Regions from separate parts of the Homo sapiens genome. Here regions 2, 3, 4 and 5 are each linked to region 1. Evidence: promoter capture Hi-C in human tissues and cell types (Jung and others, 2019). All regions are on one chromosome and are shown on one strand. Each heading gives the region's core, a stretch centred on a gene start or on the middle of the fragment in contact. The rest is flanking DNA. Distances are from core to core; before and after follow the strand shown. Region 1 holds the start of ABCA2 (ATP binding cassette subfamily A member 2). Region 2 holds the start of LOC105376328 (a long non-coding RNA gene). Region 3 holds the start of ANAPC2 (anaphase promoting complex subunit 2). Region 4 holds the start of TMEM203 (transmembrane protein 203). Region 5 holds the start of EDF1 (endothelial differentiation related factor 1).

The links. The method cuts DNA at HindIII sites, captures the fragments that hold promoters and counts their contacts. A contact is called where the count stands out against the background at its distance.
Region 2: a contact is called between a fragment that was not itself captured here and the fragment with the promoter of ABCA2 in region 1, in 1 of the 25 tissues and cell types used here (H1 embryonic stem cells).
Region 3: the fragment with the promoter of ANAPC2 here is called in contact with the fragment with the promoter of ABCA2 in region 1 in 5 of the 25 tissues and cell types used here (dorsolateral prefrontal cortex, heart right ventricle, lymphoblastoid cells and 2 more).
Region 4: a contact is called between the fragment with the promoter of TMEM203 here and the fragment with the promoter of ABCA2 in region 1, in 5 of the 25 tissues and cell types used here (adrenal gland, dorsolateral prefrontal cortex, hippocampus and 2 more).
Region 5: a contact is called between the fragment with the promoter of EDF1 here and the fragment with the promoter of ABCA2 in region 1, in 2 of the 25 tissues and cell types used here (small bowel and spleen).

Annotation. Positions count from the first base shown.
Region 1 is chr9:137,025,580-137,031,020 of GRCh38, reverse strand. ABCA2 (ATP binding cassette subfamily A member 2) reads left to right here and starts at 2,784. Exons shown (of 49, transcript NM_001606.5): 1 at 2,784-2,946. The coding sequence starts at 2,881. LINC02908 (long intergenic non-protein coding RNA 2908) reads right to left here and starts at 3,557. Exons shown (of 3, transcript NR_171031.1): 1 at 3,110-3,557. FUT7 (fucosyltransferase 7) reads left to right here. Exons shown (of 2, transcript NM_004479.4): 2 at 1-847. The coding sequence ends at 311. RefSeq lists an enhancer at 1,899-2,643 and a silencer at 2,527-2,706. The HindIII fragment of the contact is 11,656 bases long and covers 1-2,964 here.
Region 2 is chr9:137,158,786-137,163,020 of GRCh38, reverse strand. GRIN1 (glutamate ionotropic receptor NMDA type subunit 1) reads right to left here. Exons shown (of 20, transcript NM_007327.4): 9 at 1,824-1,965; 10 at 1,605-1,732; 11 at 933-1,097; 12 at 731-849; 13 at 505-617; 14 at 282-430; 15 at 18-175. It overlaps LOC105376328 (a long non-coding RNA gene), which reads left to right and starts at 1,961. Exons shown (of 3, transcript XR_007061878.1): 1 at 1,961-2,837; 2 at 3,244-3,312; 3 at 4,032-4,235. RefSeq lists an enhancer at 1-234. The HindIII fragment of the contact is 6,049 bases long and covers 1-4,235 here.
Region 3 is chr9:137,185,559-137,190,897 of GRCh38, reverse strand. It overlaps ANAPC2 (anaphase promoting complex subunit 2), which reads left to right and starts at 2,338. Exons shown (of 13, transcript NM_013366.4): 1 at 2,338-2,482; 2 at 2,795-3,417; 3 at 4,542-4,674. The coding sequence starts at 2,366. SSNA1 (SS nuclear autoantigen 1) reads right to left here and starts at 2,222. Exons shown (of 3, transcript NM_003731.3): 1 at 2,120-2,222; 2 at 1,633-1,832; 3 at 532-1,091. The coding sequence starts at 2,171. The coding sequence ends at 984. RefSeq lists a silencer at 1,831-2,180 and an enhancer at 2,211-2,430. The HindIII fragment of the contact is 18,290 bases long and covers 1-5,339 here.
Region 4 is chr9:137,204,170-137,209,016 of GRCh38, reverse strand. TMEM203 (transmembrane protein 203) reads left to right here and starts at 3,369. Exons shown (of 1, transcript NM_053045.2): 1 at 3,369-4,847. The coding sequence starts at 3,603. The coding sequence ends at 4,013. It overlaps NDOR1 (NADPH dependent diflavin oxidoreductase 1), which reads right to left and starts at 3,317. Exons shown (of 14, transcript NM_014434.4): 1 at 3,105-3,317; 2 at 2,708-2,785. The coding sequence starts at 3,239. RefSeq lists a silencer at 3,354-3,613. The HindIII fragment of the contact is 14,043 bases long and covers 1-4,847 here.
Region 5 is chr9:136,865,058-136,870,463 of GRCh38, reverse strand. EDF1 (endothelial differentiation related factor 1) reads left to right here and starts at 4,156. Exons shown (of 5, transcript NM_003792.4): 1 at 4,156-4,283. The coding sequence starts at 4,206. RefSeq lists silencers at 3,855-4,164, 4,265-4,454. The HindIII fragment of the contact is 12,750 bases long and covers 1-5,406 here.

The DNA of each region.
Region 1 (5,441 bases), core at 1,535-4,034:
AATTCTGGCGCAACGCACTGGTGGCTGGCACTGTGCCAGTGGTGCTGGGGCCCCCACGGGCCACCTATGAGGCCTTCGTGCCGGCTGACGCCTTCGTGCATGTGGATGACTTTGGCTCAGCCCGAGAGCTGGCGGCTTTCCTCACTGGCATGAATGAGAGCCGATACCAACGCTTCTTTGCCTGGCGTGACAGGCTCCGCGTGCGACTGTTCACCGACTGGCGGGAACGTTTCTGTGCCATCTGTGACCGCTACCCACACCTACCCCGCAGCCAAGTCTATGAGGACCTTGAGGGTTGGTTTCAGGCCTGAGATCCGCTGGCCGGGGGAGGTGGGTGTGGGTGGAAGGGCTGGGTGTCGAAATCAAACCACCAGGCATCCGGCCCTTACCGGCAAGCAGCGGGCTAACGGGAGGCTGGGCACAGAGGTCAGGAAGCAGGGGTGGGGGGTGCAGGTGGGCACTGGAGCATGCAGAGGAGGTGAGAGTGGGAGGGAGGTAACGGGTGCCTGCTGCGGCAGACGGGAGGGGAAAGGCTGCCGAGGACCCTCCCCACCCTGAACAAATCTTGGGTGGGTGAAGGCCTGGCTGGAAGAGGGTGAAAGGCAGGGCCCTTGGGGCTGGGGGGCACCCCAGCCTGAAGTTTGTGGGGGCCAAACCTGGGACCCCGAGCTTCCTCGGTAGCAGAGGCCCTGTGGTCCCCGAGACACAGGCACGGGTCCCTGCCACGTCCATAGTTCTGAGGTCCCTGTGTGTAGGCTGGGGCGGGGCCCAGGAGACCACGGGGAGCAAACCAGCTTGTTCTGGGCTCAGGGAGGGAGGGCGGTGGACAATAAACATCTGAGCAGTGCCTCGTGGGTCTGGCCAGTGTCTCATGGGTCACCTCCGTGCAGGGCCACAGAGCCTGCATCTGCCCTCCCCTGACATGTCGCCCCCACGGCCATGGGGCTGCTTGTTCCCCACGGGGGGTCCTGTCGCCTGACTTCTGGGCCTTTGCTCACCCTCCGCCTGAGAGCCCTCCCTGTGCCGGGCTGCCCACTGGCTACCCCAGTTCCTACAGCCTCCGCCAGACGGCCCCTTATCAGAGAGCCTTCTGTGTCCCCCAAAAGGCCAAGGCGATGAGCCCAGGAGTTCGAGACCAGCCTGGGCAGTGTAGTGAAATCTCATCTCTACCAAAAATACAAGAATTAGCAGGGCGTGGTGGCTCACGCTTGTGGTCTCAGCTACTTGGGATACTGAGGTGAGAGGATGGCTTGAGCCCAGGAGGTTGAAGCTTCAGTGAGCCGTGATCACACCACAGCACTCCAGCCTGGGCAACAGAATGAGACCCTGTCTCAAAACAAAAACCAAAACAGGCCAAGGTTGGGGAAGAGTAGGGAACGGACGTCAGAGGCCTGGCCAGGCTGAAATCGCCCATCTCCCAGGCCCGCAGGCTGGAGGGTGTCTGGGGTGACAGGGTCTGACCTGTGCCTTGTAGCTCCCTCTGGTGGCCAGTGCTGGGGAGGCACTGGGGATGCGGCTGCAGCCAGGGAGCCCCTGTAGTGGACGGTGGAGAGTGGGGCGAGGAGGAGAGAGGCCAACCCACGGGTGGTGCTGACCAGGGCCCCAACAGGCTAAGCCCCCGGGGCTGGGGCACAGGGCTTGTCCCTACCCCAGGTAGGGGTGGGCAGGTTGAGGGCAGGAAGCCCCCCTCACCCATGGCTGTGGCTTGTGGGAAAGACCTGCTGGTAGCTTCCTGCCCTGACCCAGCCCTGTGGACTGAGCAGAGAAAAGCAAGTGCCTTGAGGCTGCGGGCTGGGGTGGGAAGCTGATCCCTCACTCACTAGCCCAGGGTCACCTTCCTGCTGCAAAGGAGCTGGGAGGAGTGGGGAGCTGTGGCCTCGGAGGTCTTCATTCACTTGAGGATGCGCCTTCTATGTGCGCCCTGACACTGGACACCACACAGCGCTACTCCACCCCATTCACAGGGGGGAAACTGAGTCTGGGAAGCGCCGTCAGAGCCACCCATGGGGTCAGCCTGTCCTCTGTCGCTCTCTACAGGCCACGCGGAGGAACTGCCCCACCTCCCGGGGCGCCCCAGCAGGTGCCAAGCCACAGCCGCAGAACCGCCTGATCCCGAACTCCCTGTGCAGAGACCAGACTCGCCCGAATATGGGGAGAAAAACGAGCCGCGTGCAGCAGGGGCCGCCTCGGTCCCCTGCCTGCTCCGCTCACGGCGAGCGTTCCTGGGGCCTCGAGTTTCCCCCCTTCCGCTGGCTGCTCGGAATCGCGGGACGGACCCACCTGGCCGCCCTGCCTCCCTTCCAGGTGGGCACCACCTGGACTCCAAGTGCTGGTTTACAAAGCACACAGGAGACCCTTACGGGGGTGAGCTGGCCCCTCGCCAGCGTCCGCTCGGCGCGCCCCGGGGACAGTGAAGGCTTGGGGCGCCTCTGCAGAGTCGCCAGCGCGGTGGGCGCAGCCGGATGCCTCTGGGAGAAGAGCGCAGCGCCCGAGGGTCCCCCGGCCTACGAAGGCTAAGCCGGGGTCTCGGATTCGATGTGGGCGCGTCGCGTGACGCCCGGCGAGGGGCGGCCCGGAGGCTTCCCGGCGGCGGCGCGCGCAGGGTCTCGGGCCCGGGTCGGTCCCGGGCGCGGCGCGGGCGGCGGGCGCCTCCTGGCGGGCGCGGACGGAGCGCGGCGCCTTTAAGCGGGGGCGGGCGGGGCGCGGGCAGAGTCGCTGTCGCCGCGGCCGCCGGGGCGGAGCCAGCGCGGATCGGGTCCCGGACGCCCGAGCGCCCCGCCCCCGCGCGGGCGATGCCCAGCGGCGCGGCGGGCTGCGGGGCCCGGCGGGGCGCGCAGAGGAGCGGGCCGCGGCGCTGAGGCGGCGGAGCGTGGCCCCGCCATGGGCTTCCTGCACCAGCTGCAGCTGCTGCTCTGGAAGAACGTGACGCTCAAACGCCGGAGCCCGGTGAGCCCACCCCACGCGCCCGCCCTCAGCCCGAGGCCGCGCGCACCGCGGCCAGAGGCGCGCTCCCCGCGCGCACGTGCGGACGGCCGGGCGCGCGCAGACCCCGGCGGGCGCTGGGGGCGGCGCGGGCCCGAGCCCCCTCCCCGCCGGGCCCTGCCCTCGCCTGCCGGCGCTGCGGCCTCCGGGGAGGTGGCTCGGTCGTGTCCAGTCCGGTCCCGCGTCCGCTGACATCGCGGTGCTCGGCTGAGTCACGGCACCCGCGCCCTCTGCAGCGCGCTCGCTGGGGCCGCTGTGGGCGGGGGGCAAGCGGCGCTCAGGACTCTGGCTCGAGGGAGGCCCTGGTTCCCAGGACAGAAGGCAGGCCTGGGGGGCTCCATTCAGCTGCGAGGCTCCATGGTCCTTGGGCCCAGCCTCCCTGGGGTCCCGGAGGAGACCCTGTCCCTTCCCTCCGTCCACCCCTCCCCTGCCCTTGGGCCGCGGCCTGCCATAGAGGTTGGTCCCAGGCATCTCTCCGCCTCCCCTCCTGGCACATCCGTGACCCTTGCTCATGCTCTCGCCACTGGGAATGTCCTTGTGCCAGCCTTGGCCAGCCTGAATCTCTGCACCCATTTGTCCTTTGGGGTCAGTTCTCCCCGAGCCTGATCCACTCTGTTGCCTCCTGGTCCCCCCACCTGCTCTGGGGGCTGGGTCTACTGTTTGGAGCTGTGAACCCCGGCTTTCCCAGCACTGCCTGGGCAGCCAGTGGACCTGAGGGTGCAGGACACATGGCTGTCAGGGACAGAAGTCCTTCGTGGAGCGAGGGGCTTGGGGATATGGGTGTCCTGCCATACCCCCAGCTGGCCAGCTTGGCTCCAGCCTGGGAAGGGAAGGGACACCTCCCAGGCCACAGGCCTGGACCAGCTTAGGTTTCTGAAGGCCCTTGGGATTGTCCAGGCCAGGGCTCAGAGCAGGTGGGGGCCTAAGGCAGACATCCTCTTGCCCAGCCAGGGCCCGGGCGGGACCCCTTGGGCTGCACCAGTCCGTGCCTGTTTATCTTTCAACATGCACTGCAGGAAACCCAGGCTGCAGTCAGCTGGGGTGGCCATCATCACCATGGCTGGCAGAATTCCCCTGGGCACCTGGCCTTGGCGGGGAGCCTGGGTTAGGTACATGCCCTGGCCAGGCACCTGGAGCTGGCTGAGTGGGGTCCCATGGATCAGGCCTGCAGCCCCTGGCATTGAGTCACTGGGGACAGCAGAGCAGGGCCAAGGGAACAGGGATGTGGCATGTGGCATGCATTAGTATTAGTCCCCGGGGGTGGTTGTCAGGAAGGTCCCCACTGGGCTTGGGAGCAGAGGCTGGAATGGTGGCCCCTGTTCCAGTGGGGACAATGCTCAGGGAAGGGAGTGTGGCCTATGAGGGCAGCTGGCAAGCAGGTGGGAGGTGTGCACTGTCCTGACCGCAAGAGTGACTCCCAGCTGCTGGTTTGGGCTGCCCCCCAGGACCTTTTTGGGTCCCCACCCTACAGGGCTCCCAGAGGCCCACTGGGCCACAGTGGAGGTCCTTAGCCCATGGCTGGAGCAGGTGGGGAACTGTTTCCCCCAGGGAGGCTGAGTCCTTGCCAGGCTTGTGATGTGGGGCTGGGGCTGGCTGGACACTGGGCACACTCCTGCTGGGTCCCCACTTTCCTGGGAAGGATCTTGGACATCAGAGCTGGACTCTTGGGGCCAAGCTTGGATGACAGAGGTTTGCCCTGTGTGCCATGCGCCCTGCTGGGGCAGGGGTGCACCCTGGGCAGAGCTCCACCCTGGGCAGAGCTCAGGGTCTGGAGGGTGGGTGCCAAGGACCTCTGTGCTGCTAGCAGGCTCCTCCAAGCTCTTTGCCTCAGTTTCCCTGTCTGTGAGTGTGGCCTATCTCCTCTTAGTTAGCTGGACTTGGGTCTACCCTTGGGCTACAGGCTGCTCTTGGTGCAGGGACAGGGTCACTGTCATGAAGTCACTGGGATGGCAGATGGCAGCGCCACCCTCGGGTCTCACCTGTTCTCCCCCCGACACAGTAGGCGGGAGCTACAGGGAGGGGTCATGCCCAGAGAAGGCATCTAGGCCTCCAGGCGATGTGAAGGCACTGGGCTGGTCTCGAGGGACGGAGGTTGGGCCACCTGGAGGCACCTGTGTGGGGCACCCAGGGCGTGCTAGACCTGTGCTGCCGCCTGTAACCAGATGCTGCTGTGGCGCCCGCCGCCTGCCAGCCAGGACTCTCCTCCTCCTCCCAGTAGCTCGTGCGAGGCCGTTGCTATAGCAATGGGGGAGGCAGCCGGGCCTGTTGCTGCAGTTACAGTGCCCATAGCAGGCCGGGTGTGGGCGGGGCTGGCGCCCCGTGCTGTGACCCCTGCCTCTGACATTGCCTCACTCCTGCAGCCACCCTCGCCCTGGTGCCTGTTGGTGCCCACAGTGCCTTGGCGAACCCTGGGCTCCGTCCTGGCTCAGGGAGCGGGTGGAGGCTGGCACGGGCTGGGG
Region 2 (4,235 bases), core at 257-2,756, 130 kb before region 1:
GGCCGCCCGCGCCTCACTTGTCTCTCACGGCCTGGATGGCCTCCGCCGCACTCTCGTAGTTGTGCTTCTCCATATGCCGGTACATGGTGCTCAGCTCCACCTGGCGCCGGAAGTAGATATCCACGGAGCTCTGCTTCACCGTGGCGTAGATAAACTTGTCCGAGGGGTTCCTCAGCTGCAGGGTCGGAGGGCAGGGATCGCGGCGGCGGCTCCCCAGGCCCCTAACCGAGGCCGACCCCAGCTCACCTCGCATTCCCTCCCCCAGCCCGGCCAGGCCTCACCCGAGGGTCGTTGATGCCCGTGATGCGCTCCTCCGGCCGGTCCAGCACCAGGAAGGCCGCCAGGTTGGCGGTGTAGGAGGCCACGATGATCATGGCAAAGCCGGCCCACACCATGCCCAGGATGCGCGCTGAGAAGCTTCTGGGGGCGCCTGTGGGCGGGCGGGGGGCTCTGTCAGACCCTAGAGGGCCGAGGCGGGACCAGGCGGGCCGGGCGGGGCCTTACCTTCCCCGATGCCGGAGTTGAGCAGGACGCCCCAGGAGAACCACATGGCCGAGGACAGGGTCAGTGCGTCCTCCTCCTCCTCCTCGCTGTTCACCTTGAACCGGCCGAAGGGGCTGCGGGGCGCAGAGGGCGGGCGGGAGAGAGGGCGGGAGAGGCGGCCCTGCCCCGCCCCTGGCCGGCTCCGCGCCCCGCAGATGGAGGTGTCTGAGCCCCGGGTCGCGCTCACCTGAAGCGGTCCAGCAGGTACAGCATCACGGCCACCACGTGCACCGACAGCCCCACCAGCAGCCACAGTGTGCTCTGGAACGGCTGCATGAACGAGTCCAGCGTGCTCCGGGGAATCTCCTGCGGAGGGACGCGAGGTCAGCGCGGCCCGGGCCCTCCAGGGACTCCCCCCGCCGCCACCCCGCCACCCGGCCCCTGCCCACCTTCTTGACCAGAATAGTCAGGCCCTGGTACTTGAAGGGCTTGGAAAACTCGATGTACTGCGCGCGCTCGTTGTTTATGGTTAGCGGCGCCACGATCATGTCTGCCTGCCCGCTGAGCAGCTCGCCCATCATCCCATTCCACTCCTTCTTGTTGCTGTTGTTCACCTGCGAGGCGACAGAGCCGGCGGGCATGCAGGCAGCGTCCTCCCAGCTCCCGCCACAGGTACCCCCGACTGAAGCCGCCCTAGAGCACTCCGGGGGTCTTCTCCCCAAGACCCTACCCAGCTCGCAGGCCCCACCCCACTCCAGCCCCGCCCTGGCTCGCAGACCCCTCCCACGCCGGGCGGGCCCCACCACAGCCAGCAGGCCCCGCCCACTCCACGTCCCGCCCACTCCAGACCCCCGCCTGCAGGCCCTGCCCACTCCGTGCCCCACCCACTCCGACCCCCACGTCAGGCCCCTCCCATGTCAGGCCCCACCCAGCCCTCAGGCCCCGCCCACCCCATGCTTTACCCACGCCAGGACCCAGCCCGCAGGCTCCGCTCACTCCATGCCCCACTCACCCCAGGACCCCCCACCATCTGCAAGCCCCGCCTACTCCATGCCCCACCCACTCCGACCGCGCCTGCAGGCCCCTCTCACGCTGGTCCCCACCCCCGCCGTCCAGCCTACCCGCTCCTGTGTGCCGAACTTGCCATCTGCCACCAGGTGCACCTCGTAGGTGAAGTTCATGGTCCGTGCCAGCTTGATGAGCAGGTCGATGCAAAAGCCGTAGCAACACTGAGGCACCGTGTGGCGGGCTGGGTAGGTGCGGGCGGTAACTGCTGGGCTCCAGACCGCCCCACGCCCCGCGCCCTGCCCCGCGCCCCGCGCCCTGCCCCGCGCACTCACGGCTGCCCGGCGACGTGTCGTTGGGCCCGGTGCAGATCACCTTCTTGACTGGGTCGCCGTTGACTGTGAACTCCTCCTTGCATGTCCCATCACTCAGCGTGGGCTTGACGTACACGAAGGGCTCCTGGTGGATCGTCACAATCTGGGGGGGAAGGGGAGACCCAGCCTGGACCACCGACCTAAGGCTGCCCAGGGCGGCAGTCTCTTCTCAGCTCCCAGCCTCCCCTGGCGCCCCTCTTAATCCCCGACGCACCCCTCACACCCCCCGCCCTGCGCCGCCGGCCACTGCCCCTCTCTGGAGCTTCTTCACGAGCCCAAGTGTTCAGGACACGTCCTCCCCAGCCACCGTCAGCATCGTCTGCCTGCAGCCCCGGGGGGGTGGGGGCTGGGGGCTCAGAAAAGACTCCTGGAGAGCTGGACCCTTCTCTTGGCCACTTTTTCTCCAGTCTTGGCTTAGACATGATTCCCCGCCAGGTGCTGTGGCTCACGCCTGTAATCCCAGCACTTTGGGAGGCCGAGGCGGCCGGATCACGAGGTCAGGAGATCGAGACCATCCTGGCTAACACGGTGAAACCCCGTCTCTACTGAAAATACAAAAAAATTAGCCGGGCGTGGTGGTGGGCACCTGTAGTCCCAGCTACTCAGGAGGCTGAGGCAGGAGAATGGCGTGAACCCGGGAGGCGGAGCTTGCAGTGAGCGGAGACCGCGCCACTGCACTCCAGCCTGGGCGACAGAGCGAGACTCTGTCTCAAAAAAAAAAAGACATGATTCCCTCCAGCAGAGGAGCCGCTGATGTCCCGTGTATGCCAGGCATCTTCCTGGGGTGAGAAACAGCCCAGCCTGCAGGCTGACCCCCACCCTGCTGTGCCACGAGGACAGGGGCATGTCCACAAAGCCGACCCTGCACCTGCACAGGACCTGGGACCCGTGGGGCCACCCACCCGTGCCTCCCTTCATCCCGGCGCACTGCCTGTCCCGGCCCCCAGTCCCGAAGCCCTCAGGCTTTGAATGTAGGTCTCTGGCTCCTTTCTCTTGCCCGTGTGTACGTGCTCCACCGCGCCGTGGCCTCTTCGACCCACACTCCTGCTTGGGCTCGCCCTCCTGTCTGTCCTTCAAGGGACCATGGCATGGGGGTGGGGAAGGGATCTGGGGCACAGGGGGCTGGAATAGAGCATAGCACACTGCCAGAACTGTGAGGGGAGATGGTGTCAGAGCTGAGCCCTCAAGGTGGGCAGGGATCAAGCAGGTGCCTGAGGGCAGGTGGAGCAGAGGAGTCTGCAGTCCAGAACTGCAAAGGCAGGGAGGCGTGGGGGTGGTGGGAGAGGCACCCTCCCGGCATGTCCTAGGCAGGGTGAGCCTGAGAGGGGGGCAGGCCCGCCCACCCTCAGCCTCCAGGCAGCATTTTGTCTTTTATCCCCAGGGGAATCAGGAGCCATTGAAGAAGTTGATTTGCTTTATAAAACTTTCATTACATTTTCCTGTTATACAGGTAATATATATGCTAGTATTTTTAAAAAATTAGTGAGGCCAGAAACAAATTTGTAAAAAGCCATCTCCATCTCACAGCCTAGATGGGGCCTTTTGGCCATTAGCGTTTGACCGCTGCTTTCAGACTTTTCAGTGTGAGGTGTCTGGGCTGCAATGAAACCCACACTGGCACTGGAAAACCCCACCCTGTCTGCAGAGCAGGGAAGGGAGCTTGGGTGAGAGGCCACAGGGGCCGGTGCAGAGCAGGGGAGGGAGCCTGGGTGAGAGGTCACAGGGGCTGACACCAAGCTTCAGGGGTGGGCTCAGAAAACAGACAGGGTCAAGAGACATTTGAGGGCTTGGAATGACCGAGAGAAGGTTGGTGGGCGTGTCGCCTGTGAGGTCCTTGCCTTTGGTGGTCTGTGATGCTACCAGGACTGGAGTGTGTGTGGAGTGGGGGTAGTGTGGCTCTGCCCGGGGAGGAATGGCCAGGAGAGCACCCTGGAGTAGGGAGCCAAGGGAAAGATGTTCTGGAGGAGGAAGCCGGCGAGGGCAGAGGCTCTCAGAGGCCCAGGGGAGTCAGGAAGGGCTGTCCCACACGGTGGAAGAGGACAGTTTGACCCGGTCCCATCAAGAGCAATGCAGGCTGGAGGAGGGATGAGGGGTGTGGAGGACCAGGACTGGGGACAGCGAGTGCTGAAGCTGAGGTCTGCCTGCTGTCCCCCATCTGCTCTTCCCCAGCAGGGTCCTGTCAGACAACTAACTGCCCCAGACTTAAGTAGGGCTGGGTCAAGAGGGGCACTGGAGACCCCCTGTGGGATGGGGGCAGCTTCCTCTCCTCCCTCCTGTTCTCTCTGCTTCCTGTGCTGTGCCAGGTGTGCTGGACGGTGTCCAGGGGAAGCAGGCCCCACCCCCACTTCCTTTAGTGGCTTTCATTGACCTCAC
Region 3 (5,339 bases), core at 1,089-3,588, 160 kb before region 1:
GGCACATGGAAGGATGGAAGTGGCCAGTGCTTGGTGTGCGGCCAGGGAAAGGTGGGCAGCAGGGCCTGGTGGCAGCAGTGGTGTCATCAGGCCAAGCAAAACTTGCAACTGAGGAACCGACGGGGGTGGGGGGTGTGAACTCCCCCCAGTCCTTGCTGAGAGGGACCTGAATCTGAGGCAGCTGCTGGATATGCTTGGCATCCCCAGCTGTCTCTCTGGGCTGGGTCCTATGCTGGCCACCAGGGTGTGGCAGAGAACAGGACGAGCAAGCAGAGCTCCTGAGAGGAGGGTGAGCCGTGGGCCAGTCAGGGGAAGAGGACCGGCGGCCCTGCTGGGGAGGGCTCAGGGTGGGGCTGGCCTGGGGAGGGTGGGCACCCTCAGCGGTGTCCCTGAGGCTAGTGGGGCAGTCACAGGGAGGCCACTCCAGACCCTCCTCCCTCCTCTCCCAAGGGGGAGCCTCAGGCTCTGGCTCTGCAGGTGTCTGGCAGCCCCATGCTGTTGATACGGGCAAGCAGCAGGCTGGCACGGATCTTTACAAAGATAATCTTTATTCATAATCACAGGCCACAGGGGTGAGACCTGAGGTTTGGGTTCTGTGGTGAAGGAGAACCCCTGTCCTCCTGTCCCTTGCCCTGGGCCTCTGCTGGCTGAGGAGGGACAAGGTGAGGGGGCCCCCATGGTGCTCAGACAACCAGAGCCTCCCTGGCAGGGCAGGAGTGTGGGTGCCACAGAGACAAGCCCCTTGCAGAGCTGACCTGGAGCCCACCATCCCCATAGCCTGTGTGAGCATGAAGCGAGGACCCCCGGGTGGGCTGTGCCCTGGGCTTGTCACTGATGCCAGTGGAGGCTGGCACCTGCCCCTCTCGGCACCTGAGACAGTGAGGGAAGGTAGCTGCTGCCGTGAAGAACAAAGATGCTCTGAGCACACACTTGCTGGGGCTGAGCTGAGGGGCACACGGAGGCAGGCCCTGCCCGTGGTCTGGTCAGCTGTCCCTGCCGCCGCTACTTTTCTGGTCTGGGGCTGTAGCCTTGGTCAGGTTCCCAGCTTCCCTCTTGAGAACGCTGAGCAAAGTCTGGGAGCTCTCCAGGATCTGGGGCCAGAGAAGTGAGAAGGTTGTTAATGTTCACCTGTTGGTAAGGTCCTAAGCCCCAGCTGTCCTCACACTCAGGTGCTGGGACCTGGCTGGGGGTGCTGTAGCCAAGGGATCCTGTGTGGGGGAAGGCGGAAGCCCAAGGGGACTGGCAGACGGGGTGGCAGGGCCCTCTTCCCTCCGGAATCTGACCCAAAACACTTCCTCTCCACCCTCAAAGCCAGGCTGGGTTAGCACTGGCCCGTGCTGGGTGCTCTGCCCAAGACCTGGCTCTTCACACTGAGCAGAAATAACCACATGGCTAGCGAGAACCGGATAAAGACCAGGACCCAGGATGCCCCAGGCCCCACAGACAGCCCCACAGTCACTCCCACAGCAGCCTGGGTTCCTCAATGGGCCTGGCCACGCTGCCCCTGCCCGAAATGCCAGCGAGGCACAGACTGCCCACAGCCGGGAGCCCCAGCCGGTCCTGACGCCTTGCCGTGGCAACACCCCTGCCGTGCCTATCCCCTGATGCTCGGCCTGGCCTCCCGAGCTCCACCTTGAGGTAGGCGGCCTCCGTCTCCGCGATGGTCCGGTCGAACTCGTTGCGAGAGGCAATCTTGCGTGCCAGGTTCTCGTTGACGCGGGCCAGCTTCTCTGTCAGCTGCCTCACCTCATTCTGCAGCCGCTGCTTCTCGTCCTCCTCCTCCTGGATCTGCCGGCACAGCTCCTCCCGCTTCTGGCACAGCTCCTCTATGCCTGGGGGCCGGGAGGGGCGGCGCTGTGGGCCCAGGGCAGGAGCGCGGCGGCGGAGGGCGGGCCTCCTTCCACCCGAGGAAGCCAGAGTCAGGCACCACCCCCGAGCGCCCGGCGCGGGGCCTGCGAGCCAGCGAGGGCTCGGGCCACGGACACCCGGCCTCCGGCACGGAGGGCTCTGCTCAGCCGCGCGATGCCCGCAGCGAGGCGGGTCCAGGGGCACCCCGCTGCGAGCCGGGAACCCGGCCCTGCGGCCCTCCCGACCTCCCCGTCCCGGCTGCGCCGCTCACACTTGACCAGCTCGTTGTTGTAGTTCTGCAGCGCCGCGCCCTGCTGGGTCATGGTCAACGCCGCCCGGGGCCCCACCACCCCAACCGCCGCGGAAGCAGCGCTGTCCGCGCCTGCGCACGACTCCCCCACGGCGCGCCGAACTAGCGCGTCATCGCTGAGCGCCTTGTGCGCGTCATGGCTGCGCGTGCAGACGTGCGTCATCGCCGCGCGCCGCGCCGAGCGAATCTCGGAGTCGGTGGGTGCAGATGGCGGCGGCAGTTGTGGTGGCGGAGGGGGACAGCGACTCCCGGCCCGGACAGGAGTTGTTAGTGGCCTGGAACACCGTGAGCACCGGCCTGGTGCCGCCGGCTGCGCTGGGGCTGGTGAGGCCTGGGAAGAGAGGGGCGGCCCCGCGCGGAGTTTCCGGGACCGTACGCGCTTTGGGGCCGCTACCCTCGGGTTCATACGGCTCTGTCCATCATCCGCCTCTGTCCTGTCCTGCCATTTTCCACCACCTTTCCGTTTCGTTTCGTTCAGCTCCGCTGACAGCCCTTCCATAGCTTCGGCCCAACGTCCGGGCAGCACGGACAGGGGGCAGCGGAGTTTTTGCAGCCTCCCCCTCAGCTTCTTCCCTTCCCCGCCTCTCCCCACCTCTATGTTGTGTTCCCCTCGCCTCACGGTTTTCTGCACCCCAGGTGTCTTCCCGGACCAGCGGTGCAGTCCCGCCAAAGGAAGAGGAGCTCCGGGCGGCGGTGGAGGTTCTGAGGGGCCACGGGCTACACTCGGTCCTGGAGGAGTGGTTCGTGGAGGTGCTGCAGAACGATCTGCAGGCCAACATCTCCCCTGAGTTCTGGAATGCCATCTCCCAATGCGAGAACTCTGCGGATGAGCCCCAGTGCCTTTTGCTACTCCTTGACGCTTTTGGCCTGCTGGAGAGCCGCCTGGATCCCTACCTGCGTAGCCTAGAGCTGCTGGAGAAATGGACTCGCCTGGGCTTGCTGATGGGCACTGGTGCTCAGGGGCTGCGAGAAGAAGTCCACACTATGTTGCGCGGAGTCTTGTTCTTTAGCACCCCCAGAACCTTCCAAGAGATGATCCAGCGTCTGTATGGGTGCTTCTTGAGAGTCTATATGCAGAGTAAGAGGAAGGGGGAAGGGGGCACAGACCCGGAACTGGAAGGGGAGCTGGACAGCCGGTATGCCCGTCGCCGGTACTACCGGCTCCTGCAGAGCCCGCTGTGTGCAGGGTGCAGCAGTGACAAGCAACAGTGCTGGTGTCGCCAGGCTCTGGAGCAGTTCCATCAGCTCAGCCAGGTCTTGTGAGTAGTCTGTCCCGATGGCCATGCCCTTGCTCCTTCTGGTTCCCCGCTGCTCCCCTGGGTCCAGCTGGCCTCAGCAGAAAGCTGGTGAGCCGTCCTGATAACCAGGAACATGACAGAGAGAGAGTCCCAGGGATTCCTGTGCAGCGTGTCCTGGACACAGGTGTCTCTCTTCTGTCACTCACCTTCAGTCCCACAGATTCATGCCTTGACCCTGGTAAGGCCCTATGTGGCTTGTGTCTGCAGCAGCAAATTTCTTAGCAACTCCAAACTTCCTGGACTCTGCAGAATTCCACTGTGCCTTTTGTCGATCCTGGGGAGGAATGATTCTCACCCTCGTCGACATTCCTTGCCCTGTAATTGTGAACAGAAGCTTGCTGCTGCTTCTCTCCAGGAAGATCAGGTCACTGTGAGGGCAAGCAGTCTCTTGTTAGTTTGGAGAGGAGAGGGGTTTGTTGTGAGAGACAGGTCCTGTTGTAGTTCTCTAGCAATTGTCATACCCTTGGCCATTTGTGGTGGTTTTGTCACATTGAACGGGGGTGTAGCCATGCAGCTACTTGAGAGGTCTTAGGTGGACTAAAGGTGGACTAAAGGAGTGCTCCTTTTGCTGGCAGGGGTCAGGGAGACCGTGAAGGGCTTCTGTTGGGCTCATCCCTGCAAAAGTTACACGGCAACTTTTCTCATCCTCCTCTTGAGTCCTTTTGTCACTGTAGACCAGAGACTGCACTGAAAGGCACAAACAGTGGCATCTGTACCTCTGCGGCCAGGGTAGCAGTGCAGTTGGTTGTCGTTTCAGAGTTGATCCTAGGAGATAAGGCTAGGGCCCCCGACAGCCACACCTGCTGCCACTGATCACATGGGGAAGGCCAGTGTCCCTACCTGGATAGAGGCCAGCTGGGCGGGGACAGCAGAGCCTGGGAGTGCTCTGTGCTCCCAGTGGCTTCTTGAAGCCTTTGGTACAACCGCCCCCCACAGCTGAGGATTGTGGGGAGGTGTGTGCTGGGTGTGTGTGTGTGTGTGTGCTGCATGCACTCTACAGGCAGGGCAGTCCTGGCATGGGGCTGTTCTGGGCTAGAGGGGCCGGTGTGTGCTCTGGGTGCCCCATGGCCAGGGCTCTCCTCTAGACACAGGCTCAGTCTGCTGGAGCGGGTCAGTGCCGAGGCTGTGACCACCACCCTGCACCAGGTGACCCGGGAGAGGATGGAGGACCGTTGCCGGGGCGAGTACGAGCGCTCCTTCCTGCGTGAGTTCCACAAGGTGAGGACCCCTCCCTTGGGCTGTGCCCCGCTGGAGACAGGGGAGTAGGTTTCTGGCAAACCTGACACCTGGCTTCAGAAGCATCCAGAGCACGGAGGCCTGGGTGGGCCCAGACCGGGTGGTGGCTGGAGCTGTCTTGATGTGGGGTAGAGACCAGTACTTCTGGGCCCTGGTGATAGCGAGGACGCATCTGAGGTGCGCTCTTCGGATCTGCGCAGAATCCCATGGCTGCAGGCGGTATCGGGCCAGGATCCCGAGGGGGCTACCTCAGGCAGGTGTGGCGAAGCTGGGCCCACCAGAGGAGCCACTGAATGGATCCCCTTCTCCTGTTTGCTGCCCTACTTGAGTGTGGACTCGCTTGGCCGGTCCCTAATGGACTGACCTACAGCCAGCCTGCACCACAGCGGGGAGCGAGACACCCTCACATGGGGCCTCCAGGCACCTGTGCTGTTGGGGTGTGGTCTGGGGCTCTGCTCTGGGCTCCCGGAGCCATAGGGGAGCTGGGCCCAGCCATGTGGGTCCCCCCATCCTGTTCCCATGTGTCACCTGTCCTTTCCTCAGTGTTTCAGAGTCCCCCTACTGAGGTGCAGATTGGCTGTGATGTTGGGTTTTCAAAGAGGGAGGGTGTCCCCAAAGCGGTGGGCAAGAGTGGGTAGTAGGGTGGA
Region 4 (4,847 bases), core at 2,120-4,619, 180 kb before region 1:
CCCATCTACTTGGGAGGCTGAGGCGGGAGAATGGCGCGAACCCGGGAGGCAGTGCTTGCAGTGAGCTGGGATCAACGCCACTGTACTCCAGCCTGGGCGACAGAGCGAGACTCCGTCTCAAAACAAACCAACAACAACAACAACAAACAACAACAAAAAAAACATGTCAAGTTTCTCCCGTCTTTTTTTTTTTGAGACAGGGTCTTGCTCTGTCGCCCAGGCTGGAGTGTAGTGGTGTGATCACAGCTCACTGCAGCTTTAACCTCCCAAGTTCAAGAGCTCCTCCCGCCTCAGCCTCTGGAGTAACTGTGATCACAGGCATGAGCCACTGCACCAGTTCACTTTGAATTTTCTGTCTCATGATGCTGCCCAGTCTGGTCTTGAACTCCTGGGCTCAAGCGATCCTCCCACCTCGGCCTCCCAAATTGCTGGGATTACAGGCATGAGCCACTGTGCCCGGCAAACGTCTCTCATAAAAAACTCCTTCTTTTTAACTCTTTAGCCTTTTCACAGCCAGATGTGGTTTTTTGTTTGTTTGTTTTGTTTTTTGTCTTTTTTTTGTTTTTGAGACGGAGTCTCGCTCTGTCGCCCAGGCTGGAGTGCAGTGGCGCGATCTCGGCTCACTGCAAGTTCCGCCTCCCGGGTTCACGCCATTCTCCTGCCTCAGCCTCCCGAGTAGCTGGGACTACAGGTGCCCGCCACCACATCCGGCTAGTTTTTTGTATTTTTAGTAGAGACGAGGTTTCACACCGTGTTAGCCAGGATGGTCTCGATCTCCTGACCTCGTGATCTGCCTGCCTCGGCCTCCCAAAGTGCTAGGATTACAGGTGTGAGCCACAGTGCCCGGCTCTTTTTCTTTTTTTTTTTTTTTTTGACAGAGTCTAGCTCTGTCACCAGTCTGGAGTGCAGTGGCGCAATCTCAGCTCACTGCAACTTCCGACTCCCTGGTCTAAGTGATTCTCCTGCCTCAGCCTCCCGAGTAGCTGGGATTACAGGCACGCACCACTGCGCCGTGCCCAGCTAATTGTTGTAATTTTAGTAGAGACGGGTTTCACCATGTTGGCCAGGCTGGTCTCGAACTCCTGACCTCGTGATTCGCCCGCCTCGGCCTCCCAAAGTGCTGAGATTACAGGCGTGAGCCACCGCAGCCGGCCCGCACTCAAGACATTCTTAAAAGATGCTCTCCACTCACTCTCTCAGTTGCTGATCTCCTGTAATCTGGCTTCTCTCCCCATGAGCCACTGAAGCTGCTCTTCCTGGTATCACCAACAATCCCTTTGCCAAGAAATCCCATGGATCCCTCTCAGGCTTTATCTGATTTGACTTCTGTGCAGCTTTACATGCCAGAGCCCTTCCTGGAACACTCACTCCCCCAGTCCTCTCCTTGGGGTGCTGCACCCTCTCTTCTAGCTGCTTGGTCACTCTCCTGCCCTCCTGGGCTCTAACGTTCTGGGCAGCCTGTCCTGTGGGGAGAGAGGAGCTTCCTCTTCTCACACTTCTGTATTGTGGCTACCTCAACACCTATCTCCGCCCCAGGATCTTCCTTGGAGCGCTAGTCCTACTGCACTTCTCCACTTCAATGTCTCCAGGTTCCCTTCCTGCACAGCCCCCTACTCCCACCGTGTTCTCTGATTTCTGTGGATGGAACCACCATCCATCTTGGTTCCAGAGCCCACATCCCTGTCTCGATTCTGCTTGACCTATTGGGTCCGTTCCATGTCCCGGGGACTCTCTCTTCCTGACACCACTGCAATGTGTCCACTTCTATCTTCTGCCACCACTTCAGCTCAGATCGGTAGCATCTGCTGCCTGTCCTGTGCATCTCATGGCATTATTCCTGCTGTCCTGCAGACCAGTGCGGTTTTGCTAGCTTAGGAACATGACTGTGTCACCCCTACAGTTCCGACAACCCTTCATTTCAAGCCCATCTGCCTTGCTGTGGTTACTCAGGCTCTTTGGACTGGGCCTGGCTTCCTGCCTCTCTTCTCCTCCCCTCTTGCCCCAGTGTACTCCTCAGCTTGGCCACCCTGAGCTGCTTTCCACTTTTCACACAAACCAAATCATCTTTTTCCTCTGCGCTGACTGCTCCTTCTTCCTCGGTGCCTGACTAGCCCTCACGCATCCTTCCGTGACTCAGCTTACACTCTTTTCTTCCAGAAACCTCTGCCTGGGCCCCAAGGTTGGGTGAGATAAGGCTCGATGCCCCTTATCAGTGCTCCTGTGACATATGCTACTTTCCCCAGCAGCAGGTGTTTGCTGGCACTGTCATTGCCCGTTAGCTGCTTCTGCTACAGTGTGAACTCTGCCAGGATGGAAATATGGCTGCTGGGTTCACAGCTGGATCCCCAGCACCAGACTGTGCCAAGAATAGAATATGTGCTTAAAAGATGGTCAGAGAATTCAGCAACGTTCCCTGAGGGTCATACAGTCTAGAAATACACACAAGACCCAGACTAGATGCACATATAGATAGCCCTGGAAAAATAAGAAAGGTTAAAACGGATAATAAGGCTATTTGGTGGCTACGACGAGTTTATTAGAGAGGGCAACCGGAGCCCCCAGCCCCACTCACGGACGTTCTCTCAAATCCACCTCTGAAGGTGCATGAGATAAAGGAGAGCTATTTACTGCACCTAGACGCCAGGCAATGAAAACGGGGTGAGGGTCGAGGGCAGGGATCTGAGGAGCCACATCAGGCCAGCCTTACCTTCATGTTGTCAGGGGGGTCTCCTTGGCCTGTAGTTGCACAAACAAATATCACCAGGGGCTCGTTAATCAGATTCACCTCAACAAAAAGACACACACACGTAAGACCTCCGGCTGTAAGGACCGGGCGTCCTTCCCAAAACTTGACCCCCTTCTCCTTTACTCAGGCTGACAGGGCAGAGGGATTTATGTGAGCAGCCAGACCGTCTTCTCTTTCAGGTTCCAACCTCCTCCAGGTGCTAAACTGAACTCCCCTTCCCAAACCTCCTTCCCTAAATCCGCCATAAGGGAAAGACCCGCTCTCAGAGAAAATGCGACGCCTTTTGGGTCGATGACCCCGCGAGGCGGGCACGCCAGGCCTGCTCGTCCCCCACGCCGAGGCCCTAGCGAGCCCTCACCACCGGGTAGGAGTCCAGGGCCTGCACCCGGCAGCCAAGCCGCCGGCGCCGGGCCTCGCGACCCAGTCTCTCCGACACATCCTGAGCCGTGCCTGTCTGGCTGCCGAAGAGCACCAGAAGCTGCGGGCTCGGCATCGGGGTGCGCCCGGTGGTCTGGTCTGAGACTAAAAACTAGAAGGCAGTTCCCGCCGGCCGGGTTGCAGGGACCGCTCCGCCTTCCGCCTTCCGCCGTCGACCGGAAGTGACGCACTAGGGACGCGCCCTGTGGGGGCATGGCGTCCGATCGAGGCGGGCGTTCACGGGCGGCCAGGGTTGAGTCCCGGGTCGGGGCCGGGGGATTGCCGGCGCATCAGGGCCGAGGGCTGGGGCTGGCGGGGCCGCTCGCTGCCTCTCGCTCGCAGCAGCGGCGGCAGGCGCGGGCGAGGGCCACGGGGAGAGGAGACGCAGCCCCGCGGGTGGCACGCTCGGCCGGGCCCCGGCCCGCGCTCAACGGGCGCGATGCTCTTCTCGCTCCGGGAGCTGGTGCAGTGGCTAGGCTTCGCCACCTTCGAGATCTTCGTGCACCTGCTGGCCCTGTTGGTGTTCTCTGTGCTGCTGGCACTGCGTGTGGATGGCCTGGTCCCGGGCCTCTCCTGGTGGAACGTGTTCGTGCCTTTCTTCGCCGCTGACGGGCTCAGCACCTACTTCACCACCATCGTGTCCGTGCGCCTCTTCCAGGATGGAGAGAAGCGGCTGGCGGTGCTCCGCCTTTTCTGGGTACTTACGGTCCTGAGTCTCAAGTTCGTCTTCGAGATGCTGTTGTGCCAGAAGCTGGCGGAGCAGACTCGGGAGCTCTGGTTCGGCCTCATTACGTCCCCGCTCTTCATTCTCCTGCAGCTGCTCATGATCCGCGCCTGTCGGGTCAACTAGCCTCACCGAGGTGCCGGAGAGGGAGCGCTGGACAACTAGAATGTTGACCTCGAGCCGAGGCCCTACTTGCAGCGCACCGGAGGAGAGGCTCTCTAGTCTGAAGGCACCGCCGGCTTGCGCCGAGCTGAGTGCCGGGTTTCCCTATTCCAATCCTGTTTGAAATGGTTTCTTCAGCAGGGCTTAAAAGAGCAGCCTTCATCCTGAAAATGTATTTCCTTTTGTTTAATGCTTTGAGTAGATAATCCTGAATTGAGGTCATGAGGAGGCCCCCCAGGCCAGACAGTCCTGAACCCCTCTGACACTTGGAAACTGAATATAAGTAAAATGTCCAGGTGGACTCTGAGTATTTCCTGTGGATCCTGGGAAAGTACTGTTGCACAAAGGCTGCAAAGCTGGACTCAGGAATGTCCTCCAACCAGCAGCGCTGACCTAAGAGCTCCCTGTGCCGTCTATCCAGACCAGACTTCGGTAGATGCCTTTGTTAGATCTATCACATGTAAACGAGCTTGTATCTCCTTCCCTGTGCCACGAGAGAGATTGGCTTTTTATTCCAGTCTAGGCAGAGACAGAAGAATGTTGAATAAGAGCACGATTAGAGTCCTGTCTGGTTATCTGTTGCCCAAGAAAAGAACTCTGCTGTCCAGGCACTGCTTGGCTTACTATCCCAGCAAAGACTGCAGTTTTGTGGACTTTTGACCACCTTGGGCTGGCACTCTTAGCACACCTGAGACAGATTTAAGCCTCCCTAAGAGACTGAAGAGAGGAACAGGTGTCAGATACTCATAGGCACTGAGATCTACAAATGGGAAGCTTGTGAGTGGCCCATCTTTGTTG
Region 5 (5,406 bases), core at 2,907-5,406, 160 kb after region 1:
ATTGTTTGTATGTTTTTGTAGAGACAGGGTTTTACCATGTTGCCCAGGCTGGTCTCGAACTCCTGGCCTTAAGCGATTTCCCACCTCGGCCTCCCAAAGTGCTGCATTGTGGGAGGCTGAGGTGGGAGGATCGCTTAAGCCTGGGAGGTTGGGCCTGCTGTGAGCTGTGATCACGCCACTGCATTCCAGCCTGGATGCCACAGTGAGACCTTGTCTCTAAATAAATAAATAGTAGGAAAATGTTTCCGACATGGTGAATGTGTGGTACTATATAGTCCTAAGAAGCTCAGTGGGCCAGATGTGGTGGCTCACGCCTGTAGTCCCAACACTTTGGGAGGCCGAGGCGGGCGGATCACCTGAGGTCAAAAGTTTGAGACCAGCCTGGCCAACATGATGAAACCCGTCTCTACTAAAAACACAAAAAATTAGTCAGGCGTGGTGGCAGGTGCCTGTAATCCCAGCTATTCAGGAGGCTGAGGCAGGAAAATCACTTGAACCTGGGAGGCAGAGGTTGCAGTGAGCCTAGATCATGTCACTGCACTCCAGTCTGGATGACAAGAGCGAAACTCCATCTCAAAAAAAAAAAAGAAAAGAAAATTAGCTGGGCATGAACCCAGGAGGTGGAGGTTGTAGCAAGCCAAGATCGTGCCACTGCACTCCAGCCTGGGTGACACAGCAAGATTCCATCTCAAAAAAAAATAAAATAAAAAAGCAGCTCAGTGAACCCAAGCAAGGTAAATACAAAGGAAAATATGCTTAGGCACATGCTAAGAAAACTGAAGATCAGGCTGGGGGTGTTGGAACATGCCTGTAATTCCAGTATTTTGGGAGGCTGAGGTGGGAGGATCACTTGAGCCCAGGAGGTTGAGGCTGCAGTGAGCCATGATTGTGCCACTGCACTCCAGCCTGGGCAACAGAGTGAGGCCCTGTCTCAAAAAAAAAAAAAAAAGAAAAAAAAAAGAAAAAGAAAAGAAAAAGAAAACTGAAGACAGGGATAGTCTTGAAAGAGCCAGAGGACATGCCACATTGTCACATAACCTGCTGGGGAACCAGGACACAAATGACTGATCACTGATTCTCACTGGCAAGGATGGAAGTTGGAAGACAATGGGATGACGTTTATACAATAGTGTATCCTTCAAACACAAGGGCAAAATAGAGACATTTTCAGTTAAATGAAAGATGAAACTACAGCAGATGGTACTAAAAGGACCGAAGAAAGGCTGGAGGGAAATTATGCCAGAGAGACACTAAGATCTGCAGATGGAAATGAAGAGACTTTTTTTCTCCAGAAGTCTTTGGAATTGTCTTTTCTCCATGCATGAAGCTAAATGGATAACTGGTAGACAGACTGGTGCAACATCTCCAGTGAGATACGAGAGGCTCACCAGACCCCCCAAAGCTGCTTCTTTGTATCAGCTGCTTTCCTCTGGGCCCGAAGTCGGAAGAATCCAGGAATAGGAGGGAGTGCAAACAAACGACCCCGGAGTGGGACGGACGGAGTGGGATGGAGTGGGACGGAGTGGGCAGTGAGGACAGCCTCACACAGACACCTGTATCCATCATGCCTTGGTGCAGGGAGTGCCAAGGACAGGGCACAAGTGACTTGTGGCATCAGGCCTGGACTCCCGATGGAGGGCCAGATGGGACAACGGCTGTCTTGGTGGACACCTGCAGAGGACAGCTAGATGTAGCTGTCCCCTCTCTCTCAGCCCAGGCTCACTACGGAGCTAGCTGAGCCCCACTTGCATGGGTCTCCCAGGCTCTGAAAAGGGCCTCCCAATGCGTTCATGAGATCAGGTGTTGGTTAAGTTTGTCATGTTAGGAGGCCTGAACTGCAGTGTTAACAAGGCTGCCTCTTTCCAGGCCAACTCCACCTTCATCACAATCTTCCTGGGGGCTGGTGGCACTGGAGTGACGATAAGCATTTTTGGCACACAACAAAGGGGGACTTGAGTGGAGATACATCCAGTCAGAGTTTATGGGATATTTTCTTTTTCTTTCTTTCTTTTTTTTGTTTTTCTGAGACAGCAGAGTCTTGCTCTGTCCCTAGGCTGGAGTGCAATGGTGCGGTGTCGTCGACTCACTGCAACCTCCGCCTCCCGGTTCAAGCAATTCTCCTGCCTCAGCCTCCTGAGTAGCTGGGACTACAGGCACGCACCACCATGCCCAGCTGATTTTTGTATTTTTAATAGAGACAGGGTTTCACCGTGTTGGCCAGGATGATCTCGATCTCTCAACCTCGTGATCCATCCGCCTCGGCCTTCCAAAGTGCTGGGATTACAGAAGTGAGCCACTGCGCCCGGCCACAAGAGATTATTTTCATTCAGTGGAAGCACATCCTTGCTGGCCGGCTGAGGCTGTTGAGTCCTTAGCCGAACGGAGCTTGGTGCTGGAAGTCGGCGGGAAACAGAGAAGCAAGGTTTGTATGGACGGAGCCATCAGTGTGTCCCCAAGGTTCTTCCAATCATCCGGTGTGAAAAACGGTAAGCAGAAGACTCAACTTCCCACTGCCTGGTTAGAATTACAGTTGTCTCCTCCGCGGAGTGCATTTGCTAATGCAGCATTTCCAATTTAATACAGCATTTATGTATGTTTTCTTTTTGGATGGAGACTGCATTTATCAGGTTCCTTGTTTGTGGAGCATCTATTCAAAGCCCGGAAGTCAATACTATGATTAGGGCCTGCGGTGGCTCAAGCCTGTAATCCCAGGCTTTGGGAGGCCGAGGCGGGAGGATCACGCGAGCTCAGGAGTTCCAGACCGACGAGCCAGGGCGGCACGGAGACCCCATCTCTACCCCACAAAATACAAAAATTAGCCAGGCGTGGGGGCCGCGCCTATAGTCCCATCGCTTGAGCGCAGGACGTCGAGGCTGCAGTGAGCTGAGATCTCAATGTTGTGCTCCAGCGTGGGCCACAGAGTGAGACCCTGTCTATAAAAATAAAAATCCTAAAAAAGTTGTTCAATGATAATGTATAATGACCTTTCTCATTATACAAAACGGCTGGAAAATAGGGTATTACAGAATTATTGTCATATAACATATACACTTTATACATTACAGAAAATAAACATCATGCAAAACCATTCATTTTTGCAACCGATGTTTTCACAGTTTTCCATTCTTTTTCTTTTTTTTTGAAACGCAGTTTCATTCTTGTTGCCCAGGCTGGAGTGCAATAGCGCGATCTCGGCTCACCGCAACCTCCGCCTCCCGGGTTCAACTGATTCTTCTGCCTCAGCCTCCCCGAGTAGCTGAGATTACAGGTGCCCGCCACCACGTCCGGCTAATTTTGTATTTTTAGTAGAGACGGGGTTTCTCCATGTTGGTCAGGCTGGTCTCGAACTCCCGACCTCAGGTGATACGCCCGCCTCGGCCTCCCAAAGTTCTGGGACTACAGGCGTGAACCACCGTGCCCGGCTTGCGTTCTTTTTCTTAAAGAGTCCCACCTGCGGATCACGAGATCAGGAGATCGAGACCATCCTGGCCCGTCTCTACTAAAAATAAAATAAAATAAAATAAATAAATTAGCCGGGCGTGGTGGCTGGCGCCTGTAGTCCCAGGTACTCGGGAGGCTGAGGCAGGAGAATGGCATGAACCCGGGAGACGGAGTGAGCCGAGATCGCGCCACGGCACCCAGCCTGGGCGATAGAGCAAGACTCCATCTCAAAAAATAAAAGTTAAAAAAAAAAAAGTGTCCCACCCCACGCTGCGTTTCGGGCCCCACGGCCCTGGTCCTCGAGCGCAGGTCCCAGCCGCGCAGGCGGCAAAACAAAGGGGGGCGGCCGCACGGCTAGAGCGGAGACCCCGCGCCCCCTCCGCCCGCGTGGCCCGGCCGGGGTGCGGGGCCCGGGGAGGCACGGGGGCTGCGCGTCGGGGCGCAGCCGCCGCCCGCGTGTGCTCGGAGGCCGCGGGGCCCGGGCTCCGGGGTCCTCCCGACCTGCAGCCCCAGCGGCTACCGCGCCTCGCCAGGCCAGGCCAGGCCCCGACGTCGCCTTCCCTACGTCGCCGGCGCCCGGCCACGACGTCCCTCAGACGAGCCGAACGCCGAATGGCCCCGAGCACGGGAAGTGCCCGCCCCCCGCGTGCAGCCAGCCAATGGGACGCCGAAAGCGGGGAGGTGCCGAGGGGACGTAGCGTCGCCGCGCCAGGTCTCTAGCAGCTGCCGCTGAGCCGCCGGACGGACGCTCGTCTTCGCCCGCCATGGCCGAGAGCGACTGGGACACGGTGACGGTGCTGCGCAAGAAGGGCCCTACGGCCGCCCAGGCCAAATCCAAGCAGGTGCTTTGCTGACTGAGGAGCGGCCGGGCCGGGCGGGGCGGACGCTGGGCCGGGGCCACGGACCGTGGGGCAGGGGGCTCGGGGAAGGGCAGGCGGGGCCTGGGACAGGGCGCAGGGGACGGGGACAAGGCTGGGGTGCCGGGGGCAGGACGGGGTTCGAAGGGCGGGGCGAATCGCAGGGGTAGGAGGACCGGGCCAGGACAGGGGTGGGAAGGTGGGGGGCGGACCCAGGAGGGGATGGACGGACCCAGGAGGCAGGGGGCGGGCGACTGGAGGAGGAGAGGAGCAGGGAACCGGACGGGGCAAGGGGCAGGCGATAGGGCCGGGACCAGTGCCAGGGTGGGGCGGGGAGGGGATAGGGGCAGGGACTGTTGGTGGGGACAGGTGTGAGGACAGAGGCAGGAGGTGGGGACGGGGACGGGGACAAGGCTGGGGGCCTTGTGTGAGGATAGGGGACAGAGAACCAGGGTGGGCACTGGGAACGGGGGCAGGGATGGAGATGGGGACAGGGCTTGGAAGAACAGGGTAGAGTGGGGTACAGGGCTTAGGACAGGGGTGGGGACTGGGGCAAGCAGCAGGAACCAGCGATGAAGGTGGGGAATTGGGGTTGGGATAGGGCTGGGGGCCATTGGACAGCAGTTGAGGGCCTGGGGCGGGAGACTGGGTGACGGGGCAGAGGTTAGTGACCTGAGTGGGAGCTGGGGACAGGGGGTAGGCTCCTCCCTGAGAGTTTTCTCTCTGCCTGGGACCTGCTTGGTTCTACTGGTCTCCGCTGGTCAGATACTGCCCAGGGAGCCTGCCTGGGTGCATCACAGGCTGTAGAGAGTGCCTGCTTCAGGGGACCCCATGAGCAGGTGGACCCTGTTGCACAGGTGGAAGATGGGCGTGCCCTGAACAGTACTTGTGGAAGGAGATTACCAATGTGGCTGATGGATCCGAGGGTCAGTTGTGAGTCTGATGTAATAGGGAGGACAGTTTAGTCACCGCCTCTGCCTCATTCGTACCCTCAGGTGGCCTAGGGCTGAAGCCTTTGAGGCCAGTTGGGCCAGGATGCGCTGGGGCTCTGGTGACAGGGATTCATTGGTCTGCCCTACCCTTACTGGTTGCACAGTCAAAACCAAAT